Regions from separate parts of the Homo sapiens genome. Here all the other regions are linked to region 3. The links are contacts of gene promoters, found by promoter capture Hi-C in blood cells and fetal thymus (Javierre and others, 2016). All regions are on one chromosome and are shown on one strand. The core of a region is centred on a gene start or on the middle of the fragment in contact, and the rest is flanking DNA. Distances in the headings are between cores, read along the strand shown.

What was found. Contacts are between HindIII fragments. The CHiCAGO score rates a contact against its expected background, and 5 or more counts as called.
Region 1: a contact is called between a fragment that was not itself captured here and the fragment with the promoter of VNN1 in region 3, in 1 of 17 cell types (neutrophils). The highest score is 6.9, in neutrophils.
Region 2: a contact is called between a fragment that was not itself captured here and the fragment with the promoter of VNN1 in region 3, in 1 of 17 cell types (neutrophils). The highest score is 5.1, in neutrophils.
Region 4: a contact is called between a fragment that was not itself captured here and the fragment with the promoter of VNN1 in region 3, in 1 of 17 cell types (neutrophils). The highest score is 5.1, in neutrophils.
Region 5: a fragment that was not itself captured here is called in contact with the fragment with the promoter of VNN1 in region 3 in 1 of 17 cell types (neutrophils); the score reaches 5.0 in neutrophils.

The regions. Positions count from the first base shown.
Region 1 is chr6:132,506,605-132,509,304 of GRCh38, reverse strand. All of the region lies in intron 1 of STX7 (syntaxin 7), which reads left to right. Among named protein-coding and RNA genes, the nearest start is that of STX7, 5.2 kb to the left of the region's middle. The HindIII fragment of the contact is 3,553 bases long and covers 1-2,700 here.
Region 2 is chr6:132,522,687-132,525,386 of GRCh38, reverse strand. No RefSeq gene overlaps it. Among named protein-coding and RNA genes, the nearest start is that of STX7, 11 kb to the right of the region's middle. The HindIII fragment of the contact is 3,210 bases long and covers 1-2,700 here.
Region 3 is chr6:132,712,714-132,715,413 of GRCh38, reverse strand. It overlaps VNN1 (vanin 1), which reads left to right and starts at 1,359. Exons shown (of 7, transcript NM_004666.3): 1 at 1,359-1,588. The coding sequence starts at 1,379. The HindIII fragment of the contact is 10,237 bases long and covers 1-2,700 here.
Region 4 is chr6:132,541,970-132,544,669 of GRCh38, reverse strand. No RefSeq gene overlaps it. Among named protein-coding and RNA genes, the nearest start is that of TAAR9, 5.0 kb to the right of the region's middle. The HindIII fragment of the contact is 1,515 bases long and covers 522-2,036 here.
Region 5 is chr6:132,475,743-132,478,442 of GRCh38, reverse strand. The region is part of intron 2 of STX7 (syntaxin 7); the gene reads left to right. Among named protein-coding and RNA genes, the nearest start is that of STX7, 36 kb to the left of the region's middle. The HindIII fragment of the contact is 3,236 bases long and covers 1-2,700 here.

The sequences.
Region 1 (2,700 bases), core at 11-2,510, 210 kb after region 3:
AATTTTTTTAGTAGAGATGAGATTTCACCATGTTGGCCAGGATGGTCTCAATCTCTTGACCTTGTCATCTGCCTGTCTTGGCCTTCCAAAGTTCCGGGATTACAGGCGTGAGCCACCGCGCCCAGCCCAAATTTGGTTTTTCTAACTGAGTTCACCTGCCCTCAATTTTGTTATACAAGGAAGCAGTATGGCTTAGTGTTTAAAAAATGTCGGCTCTGTGGTTATTTTCAAATATTTGCTCCTTTGCTTATAATGATAATGAGGCATAATGATATGCCTCAGTTTCTTCATGTAAAAAAATCACATTAGCAATTATACCCACATGATAGGCTTATAAGAATTAACTGAGAAAATAAATTTAAAAGTCATAAGCACAATGCTTAGGAAATGTAAGTCCTGGATGAGTGTTGGCCATTGTTAACTTTGTTTTATTTTACACATCTTTCTTCTCTATCTTTTGCAAATTGCTTTTCATTCTTCACACATGATTCCTGGCTAGATACAGTGGCTCAAACCTGTAATCCCAGCACTTTGGGAGGCTGAGACTGGAGGATCGCATGAGCCCAGGAGTTCAAGACCAGTCTGGGCAACAAAGTGAGACCCCCATCTCTATAAAAAAATCAAAAAATTAGTGGGATGTGGTGGCAGGTGCCTGTGGACCCAGCTACTCGGGATGCTGAGATGGGAGGATTGCCTGAGCCTGGAAGTCAGGGCTGCAGTGAGTCGTAATCACACCACTGCACTCCAGCCTGGGTGCTCCTGTCTCAAACAACAACAACGCCAAACAAAGAAAAAGTAAAACAAAACTCATAATTCCAGTCAATCTAAGTAGCACCTCTTTGGGTGAATGAAGCCACTTGCCAATTGTCTCACCAGCAGGAACTTTCTCACATTTAGTAGCTTGAGGAAAGGGATGAAGAAAATTGATTGTGTTTGTGACTAAGTGATTGATTTTCCAGAGAGGAAAAAAGGTGGCCTTGAAAGAAAACAGTGAGAAGACTTGGGCTACACTGGTGTGAGTTTTAAGGGTAAGGAAAATGCTGTAGAATACTGTCCTTGACTTGATGGAACTCTTTATGGGAGAGAGAGTAGGCCTCAGGTGTGCTTGCATGGTTTTGAGACAGGTGATGAGTTTCTCTTGGTCTTGTGCTGATGCTGGTCCTGCAGCTGCAAGAACAGATCATAACTTTCCTCTGTGTAGGGTGGAAAAGCATTTGTTCTCTGGATGTGCATTATCTCATTTTGATTCTGGCAGTGGGCCCAAATGCTAAGTGTCTTGCCCAAAGTAGAAATTTCCAGTTGCTACTTCCATGGTGTGCCGCACAGGCAATGGCTGAGTTCTTGTAGCTTCACAGACATGTAGACACGAGAGAAAGCCAAGGGTACGAGCTGGAGACATGGATGTGCGACTCATTCAGGTATAGATTAAAATGGAACCATGTATATGGAGGAGCATCCCCAGAGATTACATGAATAACAAACTGAACATTTTTTCATTCAATGTGTTTGTTTTGGCTTGTAAGCCAGTTTTTCCAGAGATCTACTTGATAGAGGGAAAGGAGAAAGGAAGATGTCATTGAACCAAGAGAAAATTGTCTTTCTCCATACCTTGGAATATTATTTGGCAATAATGAAGGAATATTATTTGGCAATAATGAAGGAATGAAGGACTGATATATGATACAGCACAGATGGACTTTGGAAGCATACTAAGAGAAAGAAGCTAGTCTCGAAGAACACATTGTATGATTCCATTCCTATGAAATGTCCAGAATAGCAAAGCTATAAAGATACAAAGTAGATTAGTAGTCACCTTTGGCCAGTGAGGTTGGGGAGAAATGGAGAGCGATTGCTAATGATTACAAACTTTCCTTTTAGCGTAATAGAAATGTTCTAAAAGTGATGATTGTACAATGTTGTAAATATATTAAAAACCATTGGCTTGTGTACTTCAAGTAGGTGTATTGTATTGCCATATCTCAATAAATTATATCTCAATAAAGCCATTTTATTTATATAAATTTAAGGGGTGCACATGCAGTTTTGTTACATGGTTATATTGCATAGCGTGAAGTCTGGGCTTTTAGTGTAATCATCACCTGAATAATGTACATTGTACGCATTAAGTAATTTCTCATCCCTCACCCTCCCATCCTTTTGAGTCTCCAATGTCTTCTTATTCCACTCTCTGTCCATGTGTACACATTATTTAGGTTCCACTTACAAGTGAGAACATGCAGCATTTGACTTTTTTCTGAGTCATTTCACTTAAGATAATGGCCTCCAGTTCATCTGTGTTGCTGTGAAAGACATAACTTCAGTCTTTTTTAAGGTTGAATAGTATTCCATTGCATTTATATACACTACATTTTCTTTATCCATTCAGGAATGTTAATAGACACTTGATGGGCACTTAGGTTAATTCCAAATCTTTGTTCTTGTGAATATTGCTACAATAGACATATGAGTGCAGATTATCTTTTTGGTATAATGGTTTTTTTTTTCTTTTGGGTAGATACCCAGTAACGAGGTTACTGGATCAAATATTAATTCTATTTTTAGTTCTTTGATGACTTGCCATGCTGTTTTCTGTAGAGGTTGTACTACTTTACAGTCTCACCAACAGTGTGTGTGTTCCTGTTTCTCTGCATTCTTGCCAACATCTGTACTTGTTTGACTTTTTTTCTTTTTTTTCCGTTC
Region 2 (2,700 bases), core at 90-2,589, 190 kb after region 3:
ATTTAAGCGCACAAGAAAAATGAAACAAAGGGGTAGAACACAAAAATCCCTGCAAATTTCCAAAAGCCAAATTTTACACCCCCTGCAATTATGCCATTTACTACCAGTTTCTTTCTGACTGAGTCAGATGTGAGAGACCTCTAACTGGATCCAAGCCAGTTAATTACGGGATCCATTCTGATCTTGGACCCAGTCCAGTGTCTGTCGCGACTTCCAAATCCAGCTTGGATCAGAAATTTGCTCAAAGAAACTCAGAGTGTTCAAAACACAAATCTGTGGAGCCTCAGAATCCGAGCGAGAACTTAACCATATTCTCTAGCTGCTCTGAGAGAGCAACAGACACAATGGGTCCAGCGGGTACCTCCCTTGGTCACGCAGTGCTCATGGGGGTCGTTAGAAGCTCTACTTTAGATCCAATTTCTGATGCCATCTGATAAAAGAAAAACTTCAGCCAAATTAAATTTAAAGGAATTTGATTGAGCCAAGAAGATTCATGAACTGGGCAGCCTCCCAAACTAGAGTAAATTCTGAGACTCCAGTGCAGCCACATAGAGGAAGAAGATTTATGGACAGAAAAAAGGAAAGTGACATACAGAAGATAGGAGTAAGCACAAAAACAGCTGGATTGGTGACAGCCCCGCATTTGCCTTAACTGAACACGGTTCAAACAGTTGGCTACATTTGGCCAAAACTCAGTGATTGGTACAAGTGTAGGCTATGATCTGTACCTCCACTTGTTTGTAGTTCACGATGTACGGAGAAACCTTTAGGCTGAACTTAAAATACATAAGGAGGCAGCTTTAGGCTAAACTTGTTGTAACACTTTGCTCTTGCTACTGTAGGATTACTGTAAAACCTTAGTAAGTAAAGTTTTGCCTTAGGCTCTATTTTTCAAGACACTTGGACTAAGACTTCTGTGAATTGTCTATTATGAGCTTTTACTAAGTTTTCTAGTGTGGTGTCTTGGTTTGGTTTCTCTAGAAGCAGAAACTTGGGCTCAGAATGGAGAATTTGGAAAGAATTCTCACAGGAGAAGGGCAGTAAGAGAAGTTGGTTCCACAGCATGTTCTGAGAAAGACTGTGGTCTTGGCTGGAGACTTTTGGTTGGATCCCACAGGGAAGCTCTGGAGCACAAGTTGCACCACAGAATTAATTCCAACGTAAGTCCAGGGACTGATGTCAATTTGTCATTGGTTGAGGTTGGGGGGAGTCAGCGCATATTGACTCTGGGTGGGGCAGCTCCCTTGGGCCAAGGGCAATTTTCTAGAGTAGAAGGTAGCTGTGATTGGTGCTTAGCTGATTACTCACAGCAACTATGGATTGGTTACTGAGGCAGTCAAAGAGAACCTGGCTGAGGTGTCAATAACATCTACCACAGGAGGTTTGTCTATCTTATACTTTATAACAGGATGTAAAACATTTGTATTAGAGCTTGCAGGCATTTTCTCTTCATTTGTCATTCTCTTTCACTTTGTTTATGATTTTAATAAGACATTGTAAATGTTTGTGCCATAAATACAAATCATCTTCTTTAAGGTTCTTGCTTTTCTTGCCCTTTTCACTCAAAGTAGAAAAACAATTATTTGGATAGAAGGAATATGATACAGGTCATAGACCTGGCTCTACACAAAGAACTGAAGAGATTTAGAAATGGAATATGTAAAGGTAAAATAAAATTTTTTTCTCTTATTTTAAGTTACTCTAAAAGATGAATGACTTTGAGAGTATAACAATACTCTACATACATACAAAACCATACAATATTGTTTTCTGTATAACAATAGCAGAAGAAATGAGAAGAAGGATTTGGGAATATACTGTTATAATGTCCTTGCAAATACCTCATTTGAAAGTAGATTTAGGTTAATTTTTTAAAGAGGTAAAAATAATTTTTAGGAGGAATACACATAATAAGTCAATAGAGAAGATAAAATAGAATCATTTAAAAATTCCTGATAAAACCCAGGAAAGAAAGAAAAAGAGGAAAAATAAAAATAGAACAGACAACAGCTAGAGAGATGGTAGATTTTAATTCAAATTGTCAATAACCTTAAATTTAAATGATCTATACATACTAGTTGAAAGACAAAGAATTTAAAACAGAATAAAAAAACAAGACACAACTCTGCTGTCTACAAAATACTCACTTGTAATGTAAAGGCATGGATAGGACAAACATAAAAAGATGAAGATAGATCATATCAAACTGAATCAAATGAAATCTGAAGTAGCTACAATAACTTCAAACAAAATAGATGTCAAGATAAGGATTATTATTAGAGATAAAGAGGGGTACTATATAATAATAAAGGGGTCAATTCATCAGGAAGACATAACAATCCTAAAAGTGTTTACATATAACAACAGAACTTCAAAACACATAGGGAAAATCCTGAAAGATATGAAAGAAAAAGTAGAGAAATTTACAGTTCTAGTTGGAGACTTCAACCCTCCTCTCTTAGTAATTGATGAAATAAGTAGGGAGAATATCAGCAAAATCCCCCAAACACTACCAACTAACTTGAACTAATTTACACTTATAAAATATTCCACCCAACAGCAATATTACTCTTTCTTTTGTAGTGTACATGAAATACTCATTGATCATATTCTGGGCCAGCAAACAAAACTTAACAAATTTAAAAGAATATAAATCATACAAAGTATGTTTTCTGACCATAAAAATATACCAAATATTAA
Region 3 (2,700 bases), core at 110-2,609:
GGAGCTCGGAAGTGAATCCTCCTGGAGTCAAGCCTTGATATAGCTAGCCCTGGCAGCTGCTTGACTGCAGCCTTGTGAAAGAGACCTTGGGCCAGAGGCACCAGCTAAACTGCCCCTGGATTCCTGACCCAGAGAAAGTGGGAGATGATGTATTTTTGCTTTTTGAAGCTGCTGAATTTGGGGATAATTTGTTATATAGCAATAGAAAATGAGTAACTCTTTTGTATTCCTCTTTGTCCTGGCTTCCCCATTTTGAGGAAAATAAAGTAAATCAAAGTGTAGAGCTGAAATATTCACATGAAAATAATAATAAAGTTTTAAAATTATTTGAATGTCTTGTGTTGACATTCCAAAATATATGAATTCCAAAAATTTATATGTTGAAGTCCTAACTGTCAGTATCTTAGAATGTAACTTTTTTGGAAAAGGGGTCATTTCAGATCTAATTAGTTAAGATGAAGTTATACTGGAGTACAGTGGGCACTAAATCGAATTGGTCCTATGATTGAGTCTCAGTCTTTCAGTGAGCCTGTACCCCTGGGTTTATGACCTTCAGTTGGCTTTTTTCTTCTGCCCTTATTTGGCATAAAAACAAAGCAGGTGGATCACCTGAGGTCAGCAATTTGAGACCAGCCTGCCCAACACGGCGAAACCCTATCTCTACTAAAAATACAAAAAATTAGCCTGGCGTGGTGGCGGGCGCCTGTAATCCCAGCTACTTGGGAGGCTGAGGCAGGAGAATCACATGAACCCGAGAGGCGGAGGTTGCAGTGAGCCGAGATTTCGCCACTGCACTCTAGCCTGGGTGACAAGAGTGAAACTCCATCTCAAACAACAACAACAATAAACAAACAACAACGATGACAAAAAAAGCTAGAGCTGGGATTTTCCCTTTCCCTGTGTTAAAGATTAGAGTGGTGTCCTCACAAAAAGGGAAAACTTGGATACAGGCACACACATGGGGAGAATAGCATATGAAGAGACACAGGGAGAAGGCAGCCATCTATGGGTCAAGGAGAGAGGCCTGGAACACATCTTTCCTTCACCGCCCTCAGGAGGAACCAACTCTGCTGACACCTTCATCTGGGACTCCCACCCTCCAGAACTGCAAAGCAATAAATTTTTTATTTTTTACACCACCCAGTTTATTGTATTTTGTTAGGCAGCCCTAGCGAACTAATGTACATAGAGTTCTTGAGTTAATCTTCACAAATTACTGCAATAAGGTAGGGTCTTTTGTTATGTAACAATGCTATGAAATCATAGCGTTTTCTTAATTAACTTCCGTAGTTTAAGGTACTAAGTTCTGGACACCACGTGTCTTCTTTCTATAAATACCAGGACATGCTCTGTTTTTCAGCACTCATTGGACTTCAGCATGACTACTCAGTTGCCAGCTTACGTGGCAATTTTGCTTTTCTATGTCTCAAGAGCCAGCTGCCAGGACACTTTCACTGCAGCTGTTTATGAGCATGCAGCGATATTGCCCAATGCCACCCTAACACCAGTGTCTCGTGAGGAGGCTTTGGCATTAATGAATCGGAATCTGGACATTTTGGAAGGAGCGATCACATCAGCAGCAGATCAGGTACCATCTCTACCATCTCTCCAGTGTACTGGATTCTATGAGAAAGGAGGGGGTCCTAGGAGACAGGGCCACTGTCAGGGTCAGTTACACTTTTAGATGATATATGTATCAGAGTAGCCAAGAACCTTTATTTTACAGTTAGAATTCTACTTTCCTCTCAAAATTAGAGCAAGGACTTCCCTAAAAGTAAGAACAAAGTTAAGAAAAGAACAATTTGCTCATTATCAAGAAGCAGCAGACCTTTGAGGAACTGGCCATAAATTCAACATCTTTGTTCCCCTTTTCTGGTACAGATGGAGGATGGAGGATAAATGGGTCAGGGACTAGGTGCTATTTTCAGAGTATTAGTGGCCTTCATGTACTCATGTGCTATTAAGGCTTTGCAGGTTTTCGAATAAATTTATAATCTGAAAACAAATTTAAGTTTTCAATTCCTTGCCAGCATGCATTATATACTTCACACTTCATTCTAATTACAAGATAAAAGTATATGTAATGCATTGTGAGTCCTTAAGTTTAGTGAAGGTTTCAGTTTGAAGTTAATCATACAGTATAAATTGTGGTTTACACAAATATTATTTTAAAAGCTATTGATCGATTAGGTGTAGACCAGGAATACATGAAGTGTGATAAAAGTCATGGATAAATGTGTATTACATATATCTATAAATATATATTCTTTTGTGTTGTTGAGTTAAGGTCTCACTCTGTCACCCAGGATGGAGTATAGTGGTGTGATCACGTCTCACTGCAGCCTTGACTTCCCGGGCTCAGGTGATTCTCCCACTACAGTCTCCAGAGTAGCTGGGACCACAGATGCATGCCACCGTGCCCAGCTAAGTTTTGTATTTTTTGTAGAGATGGGATTTTGCCATGTTGCCCACGCTGTACTTGAACTCCTGACCTCAGGTGATCCACCTGCCTTGGGCTCCCAAAGTGCTGGGATTACAGGCATGAGCTACCGTGACTGCCCTATATTCTTATATATACTAATATTTAAAAGGTTATCAGGAGTTCTGATGTTCTTTTTCATCCTTAGTCCAACTATTTCCTTGAAGGTCACAGAGCTTTTTAAGGTGACTCTCTAATTGGAAGGTGCCCAGGTTAGCTCA
Region 4 (2,700 bases), core at 30-2,529, 170 kb after region 3:
GACGACCTTGCAGTGATGAAGGTATTAGTAGTGGAAAAAGAGGCAGTGTATTTTTTATGGGAGGCTCCACTGAGAGAAACACAGTGCAGTCCTCTGGGAGTCTAGAGTAAGGAAGATAAATACCTTTTGAAAGATAGCTCTTGGTGAGCTACTGAGCCCAGGAAGTGATGGAACGCTTGACCATGTGACATCAAGCTATCATGTGTCTGTAACTGCCTATTATGAGTTAGGTCTTGTTGGATCCTCCAATGGAAATGATGCATGTAGGACCAAACACAAGCAAGGCCAGTGGGAACATGTGAGCAACATGAGCCCAGAGCCCATTACCTACCGCCTTTGCAGCAGTACCCCCTCCATTTCACACTTCAGGAAACTAAAGAGGAGAAAAACACAAGCTTGGTTTACAGATGGGCTGTCTCAGTATGTGGGTGGAAGCCAAAAACGGACAGCAGATGCATTATAAACTCCCTTAGCCTTAGATGACAGAAGAGAGGAAAACAAACTCCCTAATAGATGAAGCTTTGGTTTTGCCTAATTGGTCTTAATTGAGCAACACCAGAAAGTTGTCCCATTTAAATAACTCCTCCCTTCCTAAAACTTCACCCTTGTTACTTTCTTCTTTTTACAAACTGTTACTCTTTGAACATCTCTTAAAATTTCTCTTGTACCTTTATCCACTACCAACCTAAAAGGGAACCCCTCTGAGAATGGTATGTTTTATTGTTAATGCTCCCATATGAAGAATTTAATTCATTTGGCAAGTAGTTATTGTTTAACAGCTCATATTACTGATGGGAAAGGACGCAGCACAAACAGCTTGAACACAGCCTGAAATGTCAGAGTGTTCCTAGGTGAGGGGAGAAAGTAGAGACAGGGTAGCTGGGGGACTCCCCAGGGAATTTTGCCTGTTTTATAAATTTAACAAGGATGAATTAGTACAGGGACCTTATATATTCTTATCTTTGAAGTGATCTGTGATGCTTAGCTTAGTATTGCCCTTAGGAAATAATGAAACTTGCCCTTTGGCATTAGACGTGTGTGTGTGTGTGTGTGTGTGTGTGTGTGTGTTTGAACAGAATAAAATAAGAATAAAATATAAATGTCAGCTCTTATGTTACACCTGGGAAGATAGTCTATAATTTTTCATTTCCAAGAAATGTCGTTGCTTTTTCCAACTGATTCACAATGATAGTATTTGCAAAGCATTGGCTTTGATGATAGACAGACATGGATCTAAATATCCCAGCTCCAGCATTTACAACATATAATCTCTCTGGAGCTTTTTTCTTCATTAATAGTTCCTATAATTAATATTAATAATAAGAAAAGAAAATCAAAATGCTAATTCTAAAAACACACAAAATACAAAGGCAATGCAAGCTGTTTATAAAAATATCATTTTATTTGTGTAGGTGTATGTAATCTTTAAACTGTTTATTTGGATTTTCACTATCTCTAACTCTTAGGAAAGTTTACAGTAATTTCTTCTCTATGAAAAATTTACTTTTGAGCTCATGTTGTGAGTTCAAATCGGTTAAGTGGCTCTTTCAACAGAACTCTGGAGCTCTTCCTGAGCTCTAATTTCTAATAAAAAAAATACTTTTCCAACATTGCTTTTTTGGTTAACAGTCTTGATTGTATGATTTCAGAAAATAAATCTTAAAAATATAAGTTTTGAAACTATTTCAAAAAATCCTTATAAATTTCTTTCTGTTAAAACATTTACAAAACATAACACAAACAATTTTTATGTGATAGTGGTTTCCTTATTGGCTCTTTGGTCTCCAAAATCTGCAGATGTGTTTTACATAATGGTCATTAATACATAAAACCTCAATAAGAAAGTTCCATAATCATATCCATTTTATAGGTAAGCAGCTATGATCTACAAAGCGTAAGTGACTTATCCAAGATTGCAGATGATGGAGATGAGATTTAAACCCAAGTAATGTGGCTTTACAACCTCACTCTGAACCTTTATACTGCATGGTATGCAGTCTTTGCAGGAAAAAGAAGGTGTATGTTTTCAAAAAGCTTAACATTTACAATCCTCACAGTAAATCTCTGAGATATCATATACTTCATGAATCTCCACTTTAGGTTAGGTAAAGTAAGGAAACTCAATATTGCAAGTTTACAGGCTTTAGCACTTTTTCTCATTAAATAAAAAATTACCTTTTAGTGATTGGGGTAAACAAACCTTTTCAATAGACTAAAGTTGGACTTTTCCTAAACATTGATTATTAAGCATTTTCTATTTTAGCAAACCAAATAAAGGAGAGAATGGCCAAGTTTTTAAATATAAAAGATTAATCGATCATTATTTGATGGGTAGAAATATAAAAGAATTGATTGTTCTTGCTTAAAAAATATCTCTAGGAACTTAATAAGTGTAAGGCACTGTGCTAGGTATTGAAATAATGTAAACAAAGACTTAGCAGCAAATGAAAAGTACATAACAAATTAATATAGTCAGTAAACATCAAATTACTTGATTCATAAAGTATAGGAATATGTCTGTCTACAGGCAGAAAATAATCTAAAAACTATTGCTGATGTACTGTAACAGACTTAGTATTTAGGTATAGTAAACAGAATACATTTTGTGTGTCAAAGGGCATATCTGTTGCTTTTAATGCTCACTTCAAAATAATTTGATTTTCAAATTAATATCACTAGTGTATTTCTGCTTTCTTCAAA
Region 5 (2,700 bases), core at 139-2,638, 240 kb after region 3:
AGAACTGGGGGTTGCTCAGTATATCTGTTCAGAAACCGGAAATTACCACATGGTGGAACTAGGCTCCCATTGGGCCTGTCAGAATCCATTTCTACTCAATTCTTTAATTGGCTGAGTAATTTTATATAGCATTCATGTGGTGTACTTGTTTGTACTTTGCAAAATTGATATGCATTTCGGTCCTTTTTTTGCTATTCAGTTTATTCATGAATATTAAAGTTCCTATTCTTGGCCCATTTTTCTTTTTTTTTATTATACTTTAAGTTCTGGGATACATGTACAGAACGTGCATGTTTGTTATATAGATATACACGTGTCTTGGCCCATTTTTCTACTGGATTGTCTGACATTTTCTAAATTATTTATAGTTATTGACTATTGCTCCCTCTTTCTTATATATTATGTAGTCTTTACCTTTTGTTTTTAAGGCCTTTGATTGTAATTATATTCTCAACTGCTTTTCATAATTTTTACCAATCAGAAACATAAAAGTTTAATTATCAGTGAAGTTGAAGTTTTGTTATGTACACATTTGCCTTTTGTAAATTGCAAGATTATAACCTTTGTCCATTTTTTACTGGGCTGTTGTTCTGTTACCAAAAATAATTACCATTGTAGTTTAACCTCTTTCCTCATCATAACCTGCAGTTACTGTCTCCTGTGTGTATATGAACACACACTTACATATATACTTGTGATATATGTACACATTTTTTGTATAACATTTAACCAAGTTATTTTATGTAGTCAAATTTGTCAATATTTTCCTCTGTGGATTTTAGTTTTGTGTCATGCTTAGCTAATATTTTATATCTCTTACTCCAAGATCATGTATAAGATCATATAATAAAAACATTTATATTTCTTAGAGCAGTTTAATATTTTCAATTTTACTATTTAAATTAATGGTTTATTAAAAATGTATTTTGCTATATGCTGGGAGGTAGGGTTCTTTCTCCCCTGCCCAAATGGTTAGTCAGTTTTCCTGGTGTCATTTATTAAATAATTTATTTTTTCTCACTTGCTATGATTTTTTCCTAAAGAACAATAACACTTTAGAGTTGAGATAAATACCTGCCAATAGTCTATCGATGCCCATACTACAGTTTGTATTATCAATACGCTTAAGAAAATAAAGCCCCTATAAGGCAGTTCAAGAAAATCTGTTGAGGTTGAGAGGGAATATATAGCTAATTATAAGCAGCCATAAGTTAAACACGGCAAACAAAATTTGTTTGTCTTATGAAAGGAAAAATCAACCCCCAAAAAGCAAAAATAAATTCCTATTAAATTAGCCAAATGCTAAGAGTTGCTATATGCTTTGATTCTTCTCTAGTGTTTCTGTTTTTCAGCTTTCACTTAAAAGCAGTATTTATTACATCATTCGCGGTGACCAAAATTATCCTGCATTTTGTAATACTTTATCATTCCCTTGAGCATGTAAATAATGAATAGTTTTAAAGCATTTAAGCTATATAAGTAAACCACTCATTTAAATAAAAAGAATGAGGGGGTTAGATTGTTAAGAGTTCTTTGGATTTTCAGCTTATTTCTACTTGACGTTTTATTTATGTACCATGACATTTTATTTATGTCCCCACATACATAAAACTGTAGGTCCTCCCCTTTTGTGTAGAGCCTTTTTTAAAAAAATTGCAATAGTCATAGACTTCCGGATTGTGAGTTTAACATGACTTTTAAGCCCTGGACTTTTTATTTTAAAATCTTTTCTAAACCTCACAAAATATATATATAAGTATATAGTACAATGAACCTTTCACCTGGATTTGCCAGTTGTGGGCATTTTTCAACTTTTGTTTAATGTGTTTTTTACTTTCTGTATTCAAATTTCTCCAGTTGTCCCTATGATTTTCTTTATAGTGCTTGCTTTTTTCCTGATTCAGAATCCAGTCAAAAATCATACAGTGTCTTTTGGGTATTTTAATTCCTTAATTTAGAAAGCACCTCTGTCTTTGTCAACTTTTTTTTTCCCTTTTGTGACATTGACGTCTTTAAATGCCCAGGCAAGTTATCTCGTAGATTGTCCCACAGTCTAGACTGGTCTAATTTCTTTTTGTGATTAGATTCATGTTAAATATTTTGGCAAGAAAAATCCTCAGATCATATTGTGGCTTTCTCGCTGCAGCATGCCACAAGGTTCATAATGTCAGTTTTTTCCATTCTCACTGCTAAATTTGGTCATTTGTTTTCAGACAACAGATTTATATATGATAAAGTTATATCTTTTGTAATTAATGTCATCTGTGTGGTGGTAATTTAAGTTGTATGAATGTCCTGTGATTTTAGCATTTTTTGATGACCTTGCTGAAATCAGTTATTACATGGATAATTGAAAAATGATTTTTTGTAATTCTATTCCTCTCATTTATTAACAATAACTTATTTATATTATATTCTAATGAAATATGTAATTGTTACTTATTTCCTCACAATTTTTATGCTAGTAGTGTTAAAGTCTGTGTGCCCTTGTATTTACTTAATAATATCCTGATGGGATAAGGAAGAAGATAGTATTTTTGGGTCATAAGTGCATTTTCACAAGTTAACATTCTCACACAATTTCCTCTTGAAAATTTTTGTTACTAATTAGATTTAAGTAAACCATTTAGTTATTCTTTTTTCCAGTTAATATTTTCTATTTTCATCTTTGTTTTTCTGTCTCTTTTCAACTGCCCAATT